3 separate regions of the Homo sapiens genome follow, and regions 1 and 2 are each linked to region 3. The links are contacts of gene promoters, found by promoter capture Hi-C in blood cells and fetal thymus (Javierre and others, 2016). All regions are on one chromosome and are shown on one strand. Each heading gives the region's core, a stretch centred on a gene start or on the middle of the fragment in contact. The rest is flanking DNA. Distances are from core to core; before and after follow the strand shown.

Region 1 (3,745 bases), core at 294-2,793, 240 kb before region 3:
CTGGGGGCTGACTTGGTGCAGGGGTGTGGGTCGGGTTGCTGAGAGCAGTGTTCACGGACCCCGAGGGAGCTGTGGAGGGGCCCTGAGGCCTTCTGTCCACAAAGAGGGGAGCAGGGCCTGGTGGGGTACCACTGGGGGACATTCCCTCCTGCCTCTTACACCAGCCAGGGAATCTTTGTTGAGTCTAGGGCAGGGCAGGGCTGGGCAGTCTCCGTCAGCTCCTAACCAAGCATCCGCAAGAGTAACATGCTCTGAATCCTTCAGGAGACGGACTGTTGCGAAACCTTTTAGACTGATAATTGCCATCAGTTTTAAAGGTCAGTTTAGGAACTCCATGCTCCAAATTGCCACATTTGTTCTCTGCTGTTATCATCACTCACCCCGAGGTGGGCAGCTGCTTCAGCCACATAATTTATTTAAAGAAAAAAAAATAATTGCAGGGGCAAAAATGTTTCAGAACATGACCCCACCCGACGGTCTCAAAGCAACTTGCTGTGACGTTAACAAGCACTTCGAGGGGTGCCTGGGGCTGCCGAGGCACTGTGGAGCAGCAGGAGGAGGCCCCGGGGGCCTCAGGTCCCAGCACGGTCTCCTATGTGGAAGAAGGGGCCAGCCCCTGGCTGAGACGCCCTGCAGAGACCCAGGGCTGGGGGGAGCTTGCTGAGGTGGAAATGGGAAGCAGGCGTTGATGAGTGAGGTGCCGTCTGCACCTGGATGCTCAGCCGGCTGCTGCCGTCCCCATTGCACTGACCTTGGCTGAGACCCCAAATTCATGATCGTGTCAACAGTCTCCTGATTGAGGCCAGGCGCAGTGGCTCACGCCTGTAATCCCAAAACTTTAGGAGGCTGAGGCAGATGAATCAGTTGAGGCCAGGAGTTCGAGAGCAGCCTGGCCAACATGGTGAAACCCTGTCTCTACTAAAAATACAAAAATTAGCTGGGCGTGGTGGCGGGCGCCTGTAATCCCAGCTACTCGAGAGGCTGAGGCAGGAGAATCGCTTGAACCCGGGAGGCAGAGGTTGCAGTGAGCCAAGATCGCGCCACTGCACTCTAGCTTGGGTGGCAGAGAAAATTCCATCTCAACAACAAAAAAATTCTGATTGAAATGAAGGTCACTTTCTTGAAAGCTTGGGAAGCTTGTGTTTTGCCTCAGAACCAGTTTTTGAACCCCAGAAAAGAAGATCCACCCCCGTTAGGAGAGCTAGGCCTGGTTCTGCCCCATGGCACATCAGCTCTATCCCTCCCTTATCCACCAGGCTGGCCTCTCAGTGACTCAGCTCTCGGTGAAAGTTGTGATTCATTTGAAAATATTGGAAAGATTCAGAGCTCTAGGACCAGAGCCCCTGGAAGGGGTGACATCCCCCAGGTGGAGAGGGCGCTGGGAAAGCAGGTTTGTGGAGCATGTAGGAATCGTGGCCGCACGCTCAGGTATGTGGGGAATGTGCCCCTGTTTCTCTGTCCTGCCAGAGGGTGGAGGAATCTGACTCCCCTACCTGCTCTTCAGCAGCGGGGCCTCCAGCAGGGGGGCCTCTAGCAGAGGGGCCTTGTCATTGTCCCCATGCTGCTCCCCCTTGGCCCTTCATCCCTGTCTGTGCAGGGTGTCCATCTGTCCTCGGTGAGGGGCCACTGCTGCCTGGCCTCGCCCCCACCCTGGGGACCCTGCTGAGGATGGGAACACTGCTCCTGGCCCTCAGACCTCTCTGGGGTTTGTGGTTCCCCGAGCCTGGGGTTCTGACCAGGGGTGGGCTGACCACAGGTCACCTTCTGAGGGACCCCTGGTATCTCCTGCATGGACTCCTCGAGTGCCTGAGCCCAGGGGGAGAGCAGCCTGGGCCTGTCCAGGGCTCACTGGCCCAGGTTCCCCACCCTAGGCCAGCTCTTCTTGACACATGTAGGCTGTGAGTCCTCACCCCGTGGGGTCGTCAGGCCAGATGAGGCCATGCATGTGAGGAAAGCTTCTGATCCTTCTCCAGTCCACGGCAGTGCCATTCCCACCTGTGGGGGGGAGGAGGCAGGCTCGGGAGGTGCAGTTACGTTCCCGAGGCCATGCGGCGTTCGACCTGGGTCAGCCTTGCTCAGTGTTTCTCAGGAGGCCCTCCTTTTGTCCACGTGGCCTTTTCCTCAGACGTTTTTGTGAAGGACGATGTGGCAGAGCCCTTCTGGCTGGGCCCTCTACCCGTCTCCACCCCAGAGGGCCCAGGGACTGCGCAAGCTGCTGATGGGGACCCCCACACTGAGCGGGGTGTCCCATGCCTAGGAAGGACAGATTCCTTGGCCAGCGTTGCTGAGCCTCTGTCCTGTCACTCACCCCCTTCCAGGCTCCGAGGGATGTGAGGACTTCAGACCACACACTTCCCAGGGCACATGTGTCGCTGGGGATCCCTCATCAGTCCATTTGCACCTGTGCTGTGGGGAGCCGGTCTCTGCTGCACTTGGGCAGCCCGCCCCGGCGGAGGGCAACCCCTTAATGAGCCTTAGCAGGTGGCATGTGGGCCAGCGTGTCCCAGCACGAGACGTTCTTGTGCTGGGTCCCTTCAGCTTTAGCCTCAGTGGGCAATTGGCCCAAGTCCCTGGCTGCTTCCCCACTGCAGCCCCTACCCAGCTTGGGTGGGGTCCTCACTGCCCACCCCGCCCCCCGCCACCTTGGCCCCCTTCCAGGTTCCAGACTTCCACTTGCGTGTGTCAGAAACGCAGCTCAAACCCACCCATGTGCACGTGCGCAAAGCTCGTTGGCCTGGGAGGCCCAGGGCACGCTCACCCCCAGGGGGTCACACAGTCTGACCAGGCTTTCGCGTCCTTCCTGCTCTCTCACTGCACTGTCCGCTTCTGCTTCCCAGCCTGTGGACGCTCCCTGGAGGGCAGAGCAGCTGGCACACCATGCCCATGCTCTGAGCGAGCAGCTGAGCTCTGGCCCACAGTGGTTGCAGATGATGTCGTAGAAAGGGCCCAGAAATAGCGAGGGGTGGTGGTGGCGGCAAACCTGGCAGCAGAGCCTGTGACAAGTGCAGTGACGCCTCACAGCGGGCTCAGGGGGTGGGTGGCCTGGTCTGAAGTCACCATAAGCAGAACAGGCTTCGCACCAGGACATCCGGGTCAATAACAGCCGGCCCCAGGCTGGCGATGACTCATGTTGGAGGGGCTATGGCCAGTGCCGTGGAGGACAGGCGTGGGAGCAGTCTCACCAGATTAAGTTTACTTCCAGCATTTGGGTCTAAACCCTCCAATGAACAGATGGGCTGGGGATGTGGCCTGTTTGCCGCAGGCGACAGAGGCTGCTGTGTGGCGAGTACTGCGGCAGGGCCTGCTCTGCGTCCCGTGCACCCTGGGGTGGCACTAATGGCACTTTTCAGCCCTCGGGTTCCATCACGTGGTCTTCTTACATGGGCTGCTGGGTGGTCACGGGGCGGGGGGTCACATGACTCTGTAAAATGTGTCCTCATTCACGAGGGGCCCAAATGCTGGGGAGGGAGGGAGGCCTGGGGCAGCCCAGCCAGGCAGGGAAGCTCGGCGGCAGGAGCCGCAGCCCAGGGCAGAGGAAGGGTGGCTGTCCCCCCAACTCCCTTCCCAACCCCCCTGCAGACCTCTATGCTCTGCTTCTATGCCTGAGCTTTAGTGGGGGTGTTTTTTTAAATTGCAAAATGGACATTTTAAGGGCATCTCTCTCTGAGTGTCCGGCATATAGATGCGGCTCAATGGATGGCAGCCGGGATGAGGATGACGAAGCAGAGATGAAGGGGGCACATGT
Region 2 (3,729 bases), core at 14-2,513, 220 kb before region 3:
CTTGAGCCCAGGAATTTGAGACCAGCCTTGTCAATATAGTGAGACCTCATCTCTACAAAAAGTTTAGAAAAAAAATATCTGGGTATGGTGGTAAGTGCCTGTAGTCCCAGCTTTTTGGGATCTTGAGGTGGGAGGATTGCCTGAGCCCAGGGGTTAGAGGCTGCAGTGAGCTATGATTGTGCCACTGCATTCCAGCCTGGACAACAGAGCAATACCCTGTCTCTCTCTCTGTCTCTCTCTCTCTCTTTTAATTGTTTTATTAGATCCTGACCAGCTCACAGAGGGAGGACTCTCACCCACATTTTACACACAAGGAGACAAACTCAGAGGCAGAGCCAAGTCTGCATGTCCAGGCTCTCTGAGGGCCACGCCGTGCCAGCCCCCTTCCACCCTGGTCCCTGGCCTTCGTGTGGTGAATTCTGTGTTATGAATGGGGCCCTCTAAGATTCTTCCCACATGAGAAATTCTGTGACTCCAAGAATCAATATTTGAATTTCTGAAGCTCAACTGAAACCCAAACGCCAGTGAATCATGACTAACTTTTTTTTTTTTGAGACAGAGTGTCACTCTGTCGCCCAAGCTGGAGTGCAGTGGCTGGCTCACTGCAACCTCCACCTCCCGGGTTCAAGCAATTTTCGTGCCTCAGCCACCCAAGTAGCTGGGATGACAGGTGTGTGTGCCACCACACCCAGCTAATTTTTGTATTTTTAGTAGAGATGGGGTTTCACCATGTTGGCCAGGCTGGCCTTGAATACCTGACCTCAAGTGATCCACCCACCTCGGCCTCCCAAAGTGCTGGGATTACAGGCATGAGCCACTGTGCCTGGCCCCTTTTTTTTTTTTTTTAAAGTAAAGAAAATAGATCAATCAGACCACAACTGAATACACAATTTCCTAAATCCACAAAACCCGAGCCTCACAATACTTTTTAACCAGGGCCTGAGTGAGGGTTAGAACATCATGTAATTTTAAGCTTTGCTTAAAATCTCCCAGGAAAAATGGCTTAGATGGCATGGCTCAGACTTCTCCTGTATATGCACCTAGAAATACTGAATCGTTCCACCTGGAGGTCTTGCAGGCCCCTCCATCTCTATGGGGCCAACGTGGAACTTGCCTCTTCTTTCGTCTGGTCAACACCAGTCATGATTTTTGGCTGGCTGGCATTTTTGAACCCCTTTGTATGTCTGGGGAATCTCCCTCATGCTGGGCCAGAAATGTGCTTCCCAGGGCCCCTTGCACCTAGACGTGCACACGGGAGCTGGTAGGCAGGACAGTCACTGGCCCTGCATGAGGATCTGTAGACACCATGTGAGCCGCCCTGGCCAGGTGGCTGCTGAGACGCCAAGGGTCCAGTGGCAACCACAGCATCTGGCCCCAGTGCTGGTGGTATGCTCTTCTGGGCTGGGATTTGCATGGACCTCTGGCTGCAGGCCTGCCCTCCGGGCCATTTGAAGACCCTGTGAGCTGACTCTATCCTTCATTAATCCTTCACATGCCTAAACTGCCTGGCATGGGTTGCAAGGAGGAACCTTGACTGATACCTGCCTCCTCCCCAAGCTTACTCCTCCTCTGTTTCCATCGGAAACATCCCTCCCCTTGCCCAAGTGTGAAGCCCAGCAGTCACCCTGTCTCCTCTCTCCCTCCCCAGTTCCAATCCCCCAGTCTTACTGACAACTCTGCTTCCTACCTCTACAGCTCTGGAAGTGTCAGAGACGTTTGAACCAAAGCAACTCCATCTTGAATAGGAGCTGGGTAAAATGAGGCTGAAACCTACCGTGCTGCATTCCCAGACAGTTCAGGCATTCTAAGTCACCCTTTGTGTGTCTGAGGAATCTCCCTCATACTGGGCCAGAAACGTACTTCCCAGGGCCCCTTGCATCTAGATGTGCACATGGGAGCTGGTGGGGAGGACAGTCACCAGCTTATCATCACAGGATAAGATAGGAGGTCAGCATGAAATATAGGTCATAAATACCTTGCTGATAAAACAGGTTGCAGTAAAGGAGCCGGCCAAAACCCACCAAAACCAAAATGGCGACAAGAGTGACCTCTGGTCATTCAATGTTTGGGAGCCTTGCACACTCGCCTGGCTCCCCACGTGGCAATCATTCTGTCTGCCTTCAGGCTCCTGCACAAGCTGATGCTTCTACCTGGAGTTTTACTCCACTCTCTCCCTCCTTCCACCCCTACTTGGCCTTGGCTCTCAGCTTCTGGGAAAAGTCATTTCCAAACCTCCCCTCAGAGTAGTCATCTCTCCACAGCCCTCTGTGTTTCTGGGGGCTGTTAGGCATGGTGGCTGCCTGCTCATTCTTTGACACTTTCTTTAACACTTAGGAGCTCTGCAGCCCTGGGCAAGTTACTGAATCTCTCTGGGCCATCTTTATGTCTTCATTTATAAAATAAGGTTTGTGAAAGGAGAATAAATCTCAGGATCCCCAAATCACTAAGCCAAAGGGAAAAGTCAAGCTGGGAACTGTGTCAGGCAAACCTGCCTCCATTCTATTCCTAAATAAGATGGCTACAAAGATTGAAAAAAAAAAAGCCTACATGCCACATTTTCTTTCTTTCTTTTTTTGAGACGGAGTCCCGCTCTGTCGCCCAGGCTGGAGTGTAGAGGCGCGATCTCGGCTCACTGCAACCTCCGCCTCCAGTTCAAGTGATTCTCCTGCCTCAGCCTCCCGAGTAGCTGGGACTACAGGCGCCCGCCACCACGCCCAGCTAATTTTTGTATTTTTAGTAGAGACAGGGTTTCACCATGTTGGCCAAGATGGTCTCAATCTCCTGACCTTGTGATCTGCCCACCTTGGCCTCCCAAAGTGCTGGGATTACAGGCATGAGCCACTGGGCCCAGCCCACTTTCTTTATCCTAATGAATAGCTAATAGATGCTGGTCTTAATACCTGAGTGATGGGTTGATCTCTGCAGCAAACCACCATGGCACACGTTTACCTATGTAACAAACCTGCACATCCTGCACATGTACCCCAGAACTTAAAATAAAAGTTGAAGAAAAAAAAGCTACATACCTCCCTCACAACTTGCCCACAAGGAAATTCCTTGGATGAGGGACGGACAGAGCTCAAAGCCATCCTTCTGCCCACCGGAGACAAATGCACCTCTGATCGCCTCCTTTGCCCTGTTGTTTCACTGAGCCAGACTAAGGTATCAGTGACTATTCCTCTACCCTCCTCTCACAGGTAAATTGTGTATTCAGTGAAAGGCTAATCAGAGACCCCAAAGAATGCAACTGTTTGTCTCTTATCTACCTATGATCTGGAAGTCCCTCCCCGGCCTCGAGTTGTCCCTGCTTTCAGGACCGAACCAATGTACATCTTACACATACTGACTGACGTCTTCTCTCTCCCTGAAATGTATGAAACCAAGAGTGCCCTGACCACCTTGTTGTCAGAACCTCCTGAGGCTGTGTCACGGATGCGTGATCATAGCACCATCTTAGCTCCTTAACCTTAGCAAAATAAACTTCCCAAATCGACTGAGACCTGTCTCAGATAGTTTTTGGTTCACAGGTTCACCACATGTGCAGCCTCCACCCTTCTCCAGGCTGTTCTGGATGCTGCCCCTTCAGCCTGCATTTCCCTGTCTCTGGCTTCCCAGCACAGACTGGGGATGGGAGGGAGGGGGATGTATCTGCTTGGGACCGGCCTCTCACAGGGTCACAATGGGGCAGCCCTGGGGGTAGTAGCTGCCCACTGCTGCTGCCCTTTGGGG
Region 3 (4,053 bases), core at 77-2,576:
GACTGACCTTTCGGCTCTCAGATCCCAGGTCCCTCCCTCGCAGATACGGCAACAGGCTCTCTTGGGATTTCAATCCCGCCTTCCCATCAGCTACTCTTCAAAACACTAACTGGTATTAGCTCCTTCAGAGAACTCTCTGGCTTTCCAGGCCTACAATCTCCCTCCCTAGAATGAAAGCTCAGTGACAGAAGTGCCCTTAAACTTCTGAGTGACACGAGGCCCTCAGCCGGCCCTGAATCAATACTGGCTGGATCAGTGAGTGAATAAATGCACATGTGAGTAAGGAATGAAGGGAGCGAAAGAACTGGATTAGAAGCTGCTTGGGGCAGAGATGTGCCTTACAGGCTTCATGAAGAGTGGGTGATGAAAAAGGTAAATGGAGCATCTAAGAGGAAGCTTTGATAGAAGGGAGAATGCAAGAGAGGTTGGAAATTGGAATCCATTGGAATTGGGAGCCTGGGGAGATGCCAGGACAGGCACTCTCTGGCCTAGGACTCTGCAGAGGGCAGCCTCAGCAGGCAAGCCAGGCCCCCAGCTTCTGGGGCCGGTCGCACCCATTATGGCCCCGAAACGGCTGGGTGGTGGTCTGCAGCCTGCCCAGGGCCGGCTGGGAGACAGGCAGGGTCCCCACCACTCTCTTGCCTCTGGGCAAAAGCTGGCCTCCTGACCCTGGGGGATGGACGGGAGCAGGGGCCACACAACACACTCCCAAACATATAATCGGCCTCCTTCACCCTCGCCCACGCTCAGTCACACACAGCCTCGGTCATACACACTCACACTCACTCTCCGGCACACTCTCAGAGCATCACATAATTTCAGTGAGACACAATCCCAAAGACTAACACGGACAACCTCTGAGTCTCACACAATCTCAGGGCCACACACAGGCACACAATCAGACGAGCTCAGGAACGCCCCCGTCTCTGACACACGCAATCTGAGGTTTACACGCGCGCGCACACGCACACACACAGACACCAGCCGGCGCTCCCGCACGCGGCTCCCCCACCCCCGCCACGCCACGCCCCCATTGCCTGGGAACTGGCGGCCCCGCCCCGCAGCGTTTGAGGCGCCGCAAGCCTTCACGCCCCTCGGGCCTTGCAGATCCCTCTCCCAGTTTCCGCGGCGGTCCGGTGCGGTCAGTACCTGTCTAAAATCAATATTGCCGAGGCCTCCGCAGCAGTCAGGCCCTGCCACCGAGCTGTTCGTTACCTCGGCTCCCGGGTTCCCAGATCTCTTCATCCGGGGGCCGCCTCAGGAGGCACCACGCGGGCCCCGCTGCAGCCACGCGCCCCCGGAACCGGACCTATAGAGCCGGGTAAGTGCCGCCAGTCGGGGCGCTTTCCCGGTGACCCCCAACATATTCCGGCCTTCTGGGAAATGTAGTTCCCCGTCACCGCGAAGTGCCTCTTTATCTGGGGGCTCGCGACAGCGTCTAGAGGAGCCGAGAACTACAAGTCCCAGTGTGTTTCGCCGCAGAGCCTGCCGGTTCCGCTGCAGCTACGTAGCAGTATCCCCTTGGATCCGGCCTCCCGCCCAGTGCCTTTGGTCGCCGGCTGCCGCACCCGAGCCTGTAACTGACCTGGCGTCCCTGCCCTTGCCTGGCGGCGGTGGGGCTAGAGGCCGGGGGCCGCGGGTCGTAGCTATAAGCAGCTTCCCGCGCAGCCTCCTGCGGACTTGGACTTGGCCCGGGTCACACACGCCCAGGGCCCCACACGCCCAGGGCCCCACGCCCTCTTCTGAAATTCGCTTTACTCTGGGGGCGGTGCGCGACGAGCACTGCCTAGAGCTTCCCGCCCCCGCGGCGCCCAGGCTCTTTAGCTCGGCCAAAGACCCCTCCTCCACTCATTTTTTCCTTCATTCATTCTCTCATTCACTCTCGAGTATTTTCTGAACCAGACTGTGCGCTGAGGGTACGGTAGGGAACAACACAGAGTCCCCCGCCCTCGCTTCCTCCTGACTGAGATAAAAGACAAAATGTGAATAAAGGGTTATAATATGGATGAGTACTGTGGTGGAAAAAACGGGGTGGGTCAAATGGTACGGAAGGATGCTGTCTTAGAATGTGCAGGGGAGGTGCCAGATGTGCCAAGTGTGAGGGCAGGGCAAACAAGGCAAGACGAATGGTATGTACAAAGGCCTGGAGACAGGACGGGCACCTAAGGAACAGAGAAAAGACCGGTGAGCTGTGGAGTAGTGATGGAGGGGGTCAAATGGAGAAGAGTTTAGACGATCGGGTCCCAGAAGAACCCCTTTTGTAGGCCGGGTGTGGTGGCTCATGCCTGTAATCCCAGCACTTTGGGAGGCCGAGGTGGGCGGATCACCAGAGGTCGGCAGTTCGAGACCAGCGTGACTAACACGGTGAAACCCCGTCTCTATTAAAAATACAAAAAATAGCCGGGTGTGGTGCGCGCACCTGTAATCCCAGCTACTCAGGAGGCTGAGGCAGGAGAATCGCTTGAACCCAGGAGGTGGAGGTTGCAGTGAGCGGAGATGGTGCCATTGCATGCCAGCCTGCGCGACAGAGCGAGACTCCCTCTCAAAAAAGAAAAAAGCCCTTTTGTAGCCAGGTGTTATGTAATATGGGGAAATAGACTGAGAGGTTCCAAGATTTGCTCAGTCACCCAGACTGCTGGGGGCCCAGACAGGACTTCTGCAGTCAGCTGCTTCCTGCTCCAGATGGCCCGTTTCTCTCCACCTTGGCCCACAGCACCTACCAGTGTTGAGCATTTACTGAGCAGCCACTGTGTGCTGCTTTAGAGGTAGTCCCAATCTTCACAACATCGCTAGGATGGGGCAGGCCAACCGAGGAGACAGGAAAGACACTGGCTTTGGAGCATGCACTATCTCTGTGACTGAGCCCACCTTCATTTTCCTCAAAAGTAAAAGGGAAATACATGTTGGTAAAACTCATCACCCAGGAACTGGCCTGTGGGAAGTGCTCAGTAGGCATTGGCCCCCGGCAGGGCTGGGGACACAGGCTCAGGGCTGGTTCTCTGACTTACCACTGTTACTAATGAGTGTCGGGACCCTTTCCCTGCTCAGTGTCCAGGCAGAGCTGCTAGAGGCAGAGCCATTTCTGAAGGAGCCCCCCGCAGCGGGAGGGCTTCTAGCAAGTCTTTCCCCTCCGCCTACCACACATCCACTTCACTGATGTTCCAGTCTTCTGACCTAACTGGTCACTCCTGTTTTGTTAAGCCCAGAAAACAAATTTTTGTGCGTTTGCTTTATCTGAGAACAAAGTAAGGCAACCGTAAGAGGTCACACCAGAACTGATGCAGTCCGATCCTCTACTCCAGCCTACCCAACCTGGGCCACCCTTCCTCTGTGAAAAGCAAACACCCCACCCAGGAGACAGACTTGCAGCTTGAAACAAGTCAGATAAAAACCTCCTGCCTGGCTCACACCTGGAATCCCAGCACTTTGGGAGGCCGAGGCAGGCGGATCATGAGGTCAGGAGTTCAAGACCAGCCTGACCAACACAGTGAAACCCCGTCTCCACTAAAAATACAAAAATTAGCTAGGCATGGTGGTGCACACTTGTAATCCCAGCTACTCAGGAGGCTGAGTCAGGAGAATTGCTTGAACCCAGGAGGTGGAGGCTGCAGTGAGCCGAGATCGCGCCACTGCACTCCAGCCTGGGCCAGGCTGGGCATGGTGGCTCACGCCTGGAATCCCAGCACTTTGGGAGGCCAAGGCGGGCAGATCACGAGGTCAGGAGTTCGAGACCAGCCTGGCCAGCATGGTGAAACCCCGTCTCTACTAAAAATACAAAAATTAGCCAGGCATGGTGGTGCACACCTGTGATCCTAGCTACTAAGGAGGCTGAGGCAGGAGAATCACTTGAACCTGGGAGGTGGAGGTTGCAGTGAGCCGAGATTGCACCACTGCACTCCAGCCTGGGCGACAGAGATTCCATCTAAAAAAATAAAAATAAAAAACCCTGCCAAAGATACTTTGGGGCACAAGTACTTGCCTGAGCCTTTCAAAAGTTCCCAAGTCTGAGAGCTTGTAGAGAAATTATCCAGGCCAACCTCCCTCACTGAAACA

The links. The method cuts DNA at HindIII sites, captures the fragments that hold promoters and counts their contacts. A CHiCAGO score of 5 or more calls a contact.
Region 1: a contact is called between a fragment that was not itself captured here and the fragment with the promoter of PEMT in region 3, in 10 of 17 cell types (M0 macrophages, erythroblasts, endothelial precursors and 7 more). The highest score is 11.4, in M0 macrophages.
Region 2: a contact is called between a fragment that was not itself captured here and the fragment with the promoter of PEMT in region 3, in 2 of 17 cell types (erythroblasts and M0 macrophages). The highest score is 5.9, in erythroblasts.

The regions. Positions count from the first base shown.
Region 1 is chr17:17,349,292-17,353,036 of GRCh38, forward strand. No RefSeq gene overlaps it. Among named protein-coding and RNA genes, the nearest start is that of NT5M, 48 kb to the left of the region's middle. RefSeq lists enhancers at 2,140-2,719, 2,984-3,278. The HindIII fragment of the contact is 819 bases long and covers 1,135-1,953 here.
Region 2 is chr17:17,369,592-17,373,320 of GRCh38, forward strand. No RefSeq gene overlaps it. Among named protein-coding and RNA genes, the nearest start is that of NT5M, 68 kb to the left of the region's middle. The HindIII fragment of the contact is 584 bases long and covers 972-1,555 here.
Region 3 is chr17:17,590,382-17,594,434 of GRCh38, forward strand. PEMT (phosphatidylethanolamine N-methyltransferase) reads right to left here and starts at 1,327. Exons shown (of 7, transcript NM_148172.3): 1 at 1,150-1,327. The coding sequence starts at 1,245. RefSeq lists enhancers at 772-1,513, 1,079-1,468. The HindIII fragment of the contact is 3,820 bases long and covers 395-4,053 here.